Linked DNA regions of Homo sapiens: region 2 is linked to region 1. The links are contacts of gene promoters, found by promoter capture Hi-C in human tissues and cell types (Jung and others, 2019). All regions are on one chromosome and are shown on one strand. Each heading gives the region's core, a stretch centred on a gene start or on the middle of the fragment in contact. The rest is flanking DNA. Distances are from core to core; before and after follow the strand shown. Region 1 holds the start of FAM78B (family with sequence similarity 78 member B). Region 2 overlaps LOC112268276 (a long non-coding RNA gene).

What was found. The method cuts DNA at HindIII sites, captures the fragments that hold promoters and counts their contacts. A contact is called where the count stands out against the background at its distance.
Region 2: a fragment that was not itself captured here is called in contact with the fragment with the promoter of FAM78B in region 1 in 1 of the 25 tissues and cell types used here (hippocampus).

What each region holds. Positions count from the first base shown.
Region 1 is chr1:166,165,618-166,169,174 of GRCh38, reverse strand. FAM78B (family with sequence similarity 78 member B) reads left to right here and starts at 2,174. Exons shown (of 2, transcript NM_001017961.5): 1 at 2,174-3,189. The coding sequence starts at 2,927. LOC112268276 (a long non-coding RNA gene) reads right to left here and starts at 3,298. Exons shown (of 3, transcript XR_002958633.2): 1 at 3,121-3,298. RefSeq lists silencers at 1,934-2,423, 2,464-2,523 and enhancers at 2,914-2,963, 3,064-3,233, 2,405-3,307. The HindIII fragment of the contact is 7,560 bases long and covers 1-3,557 here.
Region 2 is chr1:166,312,172-166,315,528 of GRCh38, reverse strand. All of the region lies in intron 1 of LOC112268276 (a long non-coding RNA gene), which reads right to left. Among named protein-coding and RNA genes, the nearest start is that of FAM78B, 150 kb to the right of the region's middle. The HindIII fragment of the contact is 4,504 bases long and covers 1-3,357 here.

The DNA of each region.
Region 1 (3,557 bases), core at 925-3,424:
TATTCTGAAACGCTGCCTCCTCTATTCTCTATATGGATGCAGAGTAATTTTTCTCAAAATGCATGGCTTGCCTTCATTGGCTTCCACTGAAGTTTAAGATAAGGTCCTATCAAGAGAAGACACTGGGCCCTACTAGAGGGTGAAGGGTAGGAGGAGGCAGAGGATAAAAAAAAAATACCTATTGGGTACTATCCTCATTACCAGGGTGATAAAATAATCTGTCCAACAAACCCCTATGACATGCAATTTACCTATATAACAAACCTGCACCTGTACCTCTGAACCTAAAAGTTAAAAAAATTATTCACCAAACCCAGTGATCAAGGTTAATAACACCAGTAAAAAGTCATATTGCTATCATGTACCCCTGACATAATGCAATGAGAAGGCACTTCATCTTCATGGTATTCATCCCCCAAATCCAAAACCCTGGTCTAATCATGAGGAAACATCAGATAAATGCAAATGAGGAACAATTCTACAGAATATCTGACCAGTCCTCTTTAAAAATGTCAAGGTCATGAAAAACAGAGAAAGACTGAGAAGCTGTCACAGATTGAGAAGAATAAGGAGATGTAATGACTAAATGCAACATCATATCTTGGATTAGATTCTAGAGAAAAAAAGACATTAGTGGAAAAACTAGTAAAATCAAAATAAAGTCTGTAGTCTTAATTTTAAAAAGAAAAAAGATATGGTCTATCAACAACCAATTGATTCTTGGACAGTGATTCTGATGCCCATGGTCGACACATAACACCTTGAGAAATGCCTTGACTGTGAGTTGTTTCTCCCCCTCAGTACAGGATGAGTTCTTTCATATCTCTATGCATTTTGCATTTGCCAAATGCTGGTCCTGTACTACTCATTCACCTTTCTCTTTTCAGTGAGACTCTACAGTCTGTCAGTATTCAATTTAAATGTCACTACTTGAGCAAAGTCACACGTAAATCTCTCAGTGGCCAGAGAGCCACTGAGTGGCTCTCTGACCACTGAGGGATTTACATGTGGCCAGAGATTTACATGTCTGGCCTTCCACGGCACTGGATACACAACCCCACTAAAGCAGGTGTCACAGTTTACTATAATAACTTGTTAACAGGTTTATTTTCTCCAGTGATCCATGTGCTCTTTTTCAACTTTGAATCCCTAGTACCTAGCACTATGTTTGGCTCCTGCCAGGCAGGCAGTCAGCCTTTGCTGAATGAAAGGACCAGTGATTGAGGTCTGTGGCTACACGGTAAAATGAGAGAGACGAGTCATCAAAGGGAAAAACTGCTTTTTTGTTAACTATAAAGTGAACCAAGGTGTCAGAACAGTTAAAACAAGGATGAAGAGTGCTTTTAGATCTCAATCAATTTTTAAATTACTCGTCACACCTGTCCTAGCTAAAGACTAACTCTAGCACCTCCTGCGGCCTGTTAGTCAGTATTTCACACTTGGGCAGCAGATCCAGCAAATGTTCAATGATCGCAGAAGAAATACTTAGAAGCTATTGGCTTTGAAAATAAAAATGTAAGAAGATGCCTAGTAAAAGCATCTGCTAAATATTCTTCCTGTTTGGCACATTAGACTGCAGTATCAGACACATGACCGTGGTCATACTGTACACAATGCCCAATGTCTGCCAAAACTCTGGCATATGAGAGACTTAGTGCTGGAGTACGGAGGGATTCTTCCGGTATCCCCACTACACACAGTGGTGGAAAGAAGAGCTTCCAGAACAAACCCAGTCAGGCAAAGAGGCAAATACACTGCATTTAGTAACGCTGCTGGAGCCCGCCCTTCACCCTTTCTGAAGGTAGGATACTAAAAGGGCTCAAGCCTAAATCTAATCCAACAAGCTATATTCTGAATAACGACCAATCTCTGATAAAGCTGTTCCCCTAACCCTTCTGCTGCCCGAAACACTCACTCTACAGCCCCTACTGGGCTACCGGGTTCCCCACTGGACTCTGGACAGCGCCGCGCCCTGCTCGGCCTCACCCACCCGGTGGCGCTTGGGCCCGCCCTAGTCCCCCACCCCCACCCCAGGGCACCACCTACCAGGGCCCCGCCCCGCCTCAGCCCCACGTGCGGGGCCCCACCCCGGCGCTAGCGGCCCTTTAAACACCCCCACCCTTACACATTACCCCCCCCCCACCCGGACGGCAGCCGAATAGGGACAAAACTCATGGCGTACAGCCAGTTTCCTCCGCGGAGCACGTCCTGTGCTGCTCCAGCCGTTGGGGCTCTCCACCCCGGGCCACAGCCTCCTGGCGCCCCCCGGGCCGAGGCAGCCGGGCCGAGGAGTGTCGGTGTGGTCCGGCTACGGGGCGGGGCCGGCGGGAGCTCCGGTCGCCGCCGCCGCCGCTGCTGCCTCCGCCTGCCTCTTGGGCCGCCCGCTCGCCCGCCGCTGGGTGCGCTGCACGCGGGGGGCAGCCGTGGTGCAGAGGTTCATGCAGCGGCGGCGGCGGCGGCGGCTGCTGCTGCTGCCGCCGCGGAGGCAGACAGACCGGGCGCTGCCACCGCCGCCCTCCCCCGGCTCCATGCCGCCGCCGCTGCCGCCTCCTCCTCTCCGGCGAGGGGCGGGGGGCTCCGGCCCGGGGTGGGCACCATTCCTCGCAGCGCCGCTCCCCTCCCTGCCCTCCGCCCGGGCGCTGGAGCCGGCGAGGGCACCCGCCGCCTCCTAGGAGTGCACCCTCCGCGCGCCCTGCCGGAGCGAGGGGGCGGGCGTGGGCGGACGTCGGGGCAGCGGGGACCCCGCGCGGCTGCAAGAGGAGGGGGCTTCCCCAAGGATGCCCGGCGGCTCCCCGCTCCTAGGTGCGAGCTGAGTCTGACCGGGAGCGAGCGGCGCGTCGCCATGCCGGCGTGACGGGCGCCCCCGGCTGCCCGCGCGGGCCCCCGCGCTGCCCCACGCCGCGCCGTGCCGGCACCGGGCTGCAGGATGGGCTGTATCCAAAGCATCACCTGCAAGGCGCGGATCCGGCGCGAGAACATCGTGGTGTACGATGTGTGCGCCACCATCGACCAGTGCCCCACGCGCATCGAGGAGACCTCGCCCATCGTCCTGCGCTACAAGACCCCCTACTTCAAAGCCTCCGCCCGCGTGGTCATGCCCCCCATCCCCCGCCACGAGACCTGGGTGGTGGGCTGGATTCAGGCGTGCAATCAGATGGAGTTCTTCAACACCTACAGCGACCTGGGCATGTAAGCGACTCGCCGCGCGGCACGGGAGCGGACTCTGGGCCCCCAGCTCTGCTTGCCACCTTGACCCCCCTCCCCAGCTCCTTCCTACTGCTGTCCCCATCGTCTTTCTAAACCTTCCTCCCGCCTCCTCTCCCACCTCCCTCCTCCCTACGCTTTTGTTTCAGTGACAGGGCGGGTGTAGGGAGGCTCCTTGCGAAGGCATTTTCTCGTGGTTTGCTTCTGACTTCCCAGAAACGCGAGGAGAAAGGTGCGGGGCGGGAAGAACGCGACAAGGAGGGTTCGAGAGGCGGAGGTGGGGATGGCTGGCGAGTGCCTGGCGAGTTTCAGGGCGCCGTCTGTGCTTTGTGGGGCTCCCCGGGAAGAGTTTG
Region 2 (3,357 bases), core at 392-2,891, 150 kb before region 1:
CTGACTGGTGTACCTGAAAGTGATGGGGAGAATGGAACCAAGTTGGAAAAAAATCTGCAGGATATTATCCAGGAGAACTTCCCCAATCTAGCAAGGCAGGCCAACATTCAGATTCAGGAAATACAGAGAACACCACAAAGATACTCTTCGAGAAGAGCAACTCCAAGACACATAATTGTCAGATTCACCAAAGTTGAAATGAAGGAAAACATGTTAAGGGCAGCCAGAGAGAAAGGTCAGGTTACACACAGAGGGAAGCCCATTAGACCAACAGCTGATCTCTTGGCAGAAACTCTATAAGCCAGAAGAGAGTGGGGGCCAATATTCAACATTCTTAAAGAAAATAATTTTCAACCCACAATTTCATATCCAGCCAAACTAAGCTTCATAAGTGAAGGAGAAATAAAATACTTTACAGATAAGCAAATGCGAGAGATTTTTGTCACCACCAGGCCTGCCCTACAGGAGCTCCTGAAGGAAGCACTAAACATGGGAAGGAACAACTGGTACCAGCCACTGCAAAAACATGCCAAATTGTAAAGACCATCGAGGCTAGGAAGAAACTGCATCAACTAACAAGCAAAATAACCAGCTAACATCATCATGACTGGATCAAATTCACACATAACAATATTAACCTTAAATGTTGATGGGCTAAATGCTCCAGTTAAAAGACACAGACTGGCAAATTGGATTAAGAGTCAAAACCCATCAGTGTGCTGTATTCAGGAAACCCTTCTCACATGCAGAGACACACATAGGCTCAAAATAAAGGGATGGAGGAAGATCTACCAAGCAAATGGAAAACAAAAAAAGGCAGGGGTTGCAATCCTAGTCTCTGATAAAACAGACTTTAAACCAACAAAGATCAAAAGAGACAAAGAAGGCCATTACATAATGGTAAAGGGATCAATTCAACAAGAAGAGCTAACTATCCTAAATATATATGCACCCAATACAGGAGCACCCGGATTCATAAAGCAAGTCCTTAGACACCTACAAAGAGGCTTAGACTCCCACACAATAATCACGGGAGACTTTAACACCGCACTGTCAACATTAGACAGATTAACGAGACAGAAAGTTTACAAGGATATCCAGGAATTGAACTCAGCTCTGCACCAAGCGGACCTAATAGACATCTACAGAACTCTCCACCCCAAATCAACAGAATATACATTCTTTTCAGCACCACACCACACCTATTCCAAAATTGACCACATAGTTGGAAGTAAAGCACTCCTCAGCAAATGTAAAAGAACAGAAATTATAACAAACTGTCTCTCAGACCACAGTGCAATCAAACTAGAACTCAGGATTAAGAAACTCACTCAAAACCGCTCAACTACATGGAAACTGAACAACCTGCTCCTGAATGACTACTGGGTACATAATGAAAAGAACGCAGAAATAAAGATGTTCTTTGAAACCAATGAGAACAAAGACACAACATACCAGAATCTCTAGGACACATTCAAAGCAGTGTGTAGAGGGAAATTTATAGCACTAAATGCCCACAAGAGAAAGCAGAAAAGATCTAAAATTAATACCCGAACATCACAATTAGAAGAACTAGAGAAGCAAGAGCAAACACATTCAAAAGCTAGCAGAAGGCAACAAATAACCAAGATCAGAGCAGAACTGAAGGAAATAGAGATACAAAAAACCCTACAAAAAATCAATGAATCCAGGAGCTGGTTTTTTGAAACGATCAACAAAATTGATAGACCGCTAGCAAGACTAATAAAGAAGAAAAGAGAGAAGAATCAAATAGACACAATAAAAAATGATAAAGGGGATATCACCACCAATCCCACAGAAATACAAACTACCATCAGAGAATACTATAAACACCCTTATGCAAATAAACTAGAAAATCTAGAAGAAATGGATAAATTTCTCGACACATACACCCTCCCAAGACTAAACCAGGAAGAAGTTGAATCTCTGAATAGACCAATAACAGGCTCTGAAATTGAGGCAATAATTAATAGCTTACCAACCAAAAAAAGTCCAGGACCAGACAGATTCACAGCCGAATTCTACCAGAGGTACAAGGAGGAGATGGTACCATTCCTTCTGAAACTATTCCAATCAACAGAAAAAGAGGGAGTCCTCCCTAACTCATTTTATGAGGCCAGCATCATCCTGATACCAAAGCCTGGCAGAGACACAACAAAAAAACAGAATTTTAGACCAATATCCCTGGCGAACATCGATGCAAAATCCTCAATAAAATACTGGCAAACTGAATCCACCAGCACATCAAAAAGCTTATCCACCATGATCAAGTGGGCTTCATCCCTGGGATGCAAGGCTGGTTCAACATACGCAAATCAACAACTGTAATCCAACATATAAGCAGAACCAACGACAAAAACCACATGATTATCTCAACAGATGCGGAAAAGGCCTTTGACAAAATTCAACAACGCTTCATGCTAAAAACTCTCAATAAATTAGGTATTGATGGGACATATCTCAAAATAATAAGAGCTATCTATGACAAACCCACAGCCAATATCATACTGAATAGGCAAAAACTGGAAGCATTCCCTTTGAAAACTGGCACAAGACAGGGATGCCCTCTCTCACCACTCCTATTCAACATAATGTTAGAAGTTCTGGCCAGGGCAATCAGGCAGGAGAAGGAAATAAATGGTATTCGATTAGGAAAAGAGGAAGTCAAATTGTCCCTGTTTGTAGATGACATGATTGTATATCTAGAAAACCCCATCGTCTCAGCCCAAAATCTCCTTAAGCTGATAGGCAACTTCAGCAAAGTCTCATGATACAAAATCAATGTGCAAAAATCACAAGCATTCTTATACACCAATAACAGACAAACAGAGAGCTAAATCATGAGTGAACTCCCATTCACAATTGCTTCAAAGAGAATCAAATACTTACGAATCCAACTTACAAGGGATGTGAAGGACCTCTTCAAGAACTACAAACCACTGCTCAATGAAATAAAAGAGGATACAAACAAATGGAATGCTCATGGGTAGGAAGAATCAATATCATGAAAATGGCCATACTGCCCAAGGTAATTTATAGATTCAATGCCATCCCCATCAAGTTACCAATGACTTTCTTCACAGAATTGGAAAAACTACTTTAAAGTTCATATGGAACAGAAAAGAGCCCGCATTGCCAAGTCAATCCTAAGCCAAAAGAACAAAGCTGGAGGTATCATGCTACCTGACTTTAAACTATACTACAAGGCTACAGTAACCAAAACATCATGGTACTGGTACCAAAACAGCGATATCGACCAACGGAACAGAACAGACCAAGCAGAAATAATGCCACATATCTACAGCTATCTGATATTTGACAATCCTGACTAAAACA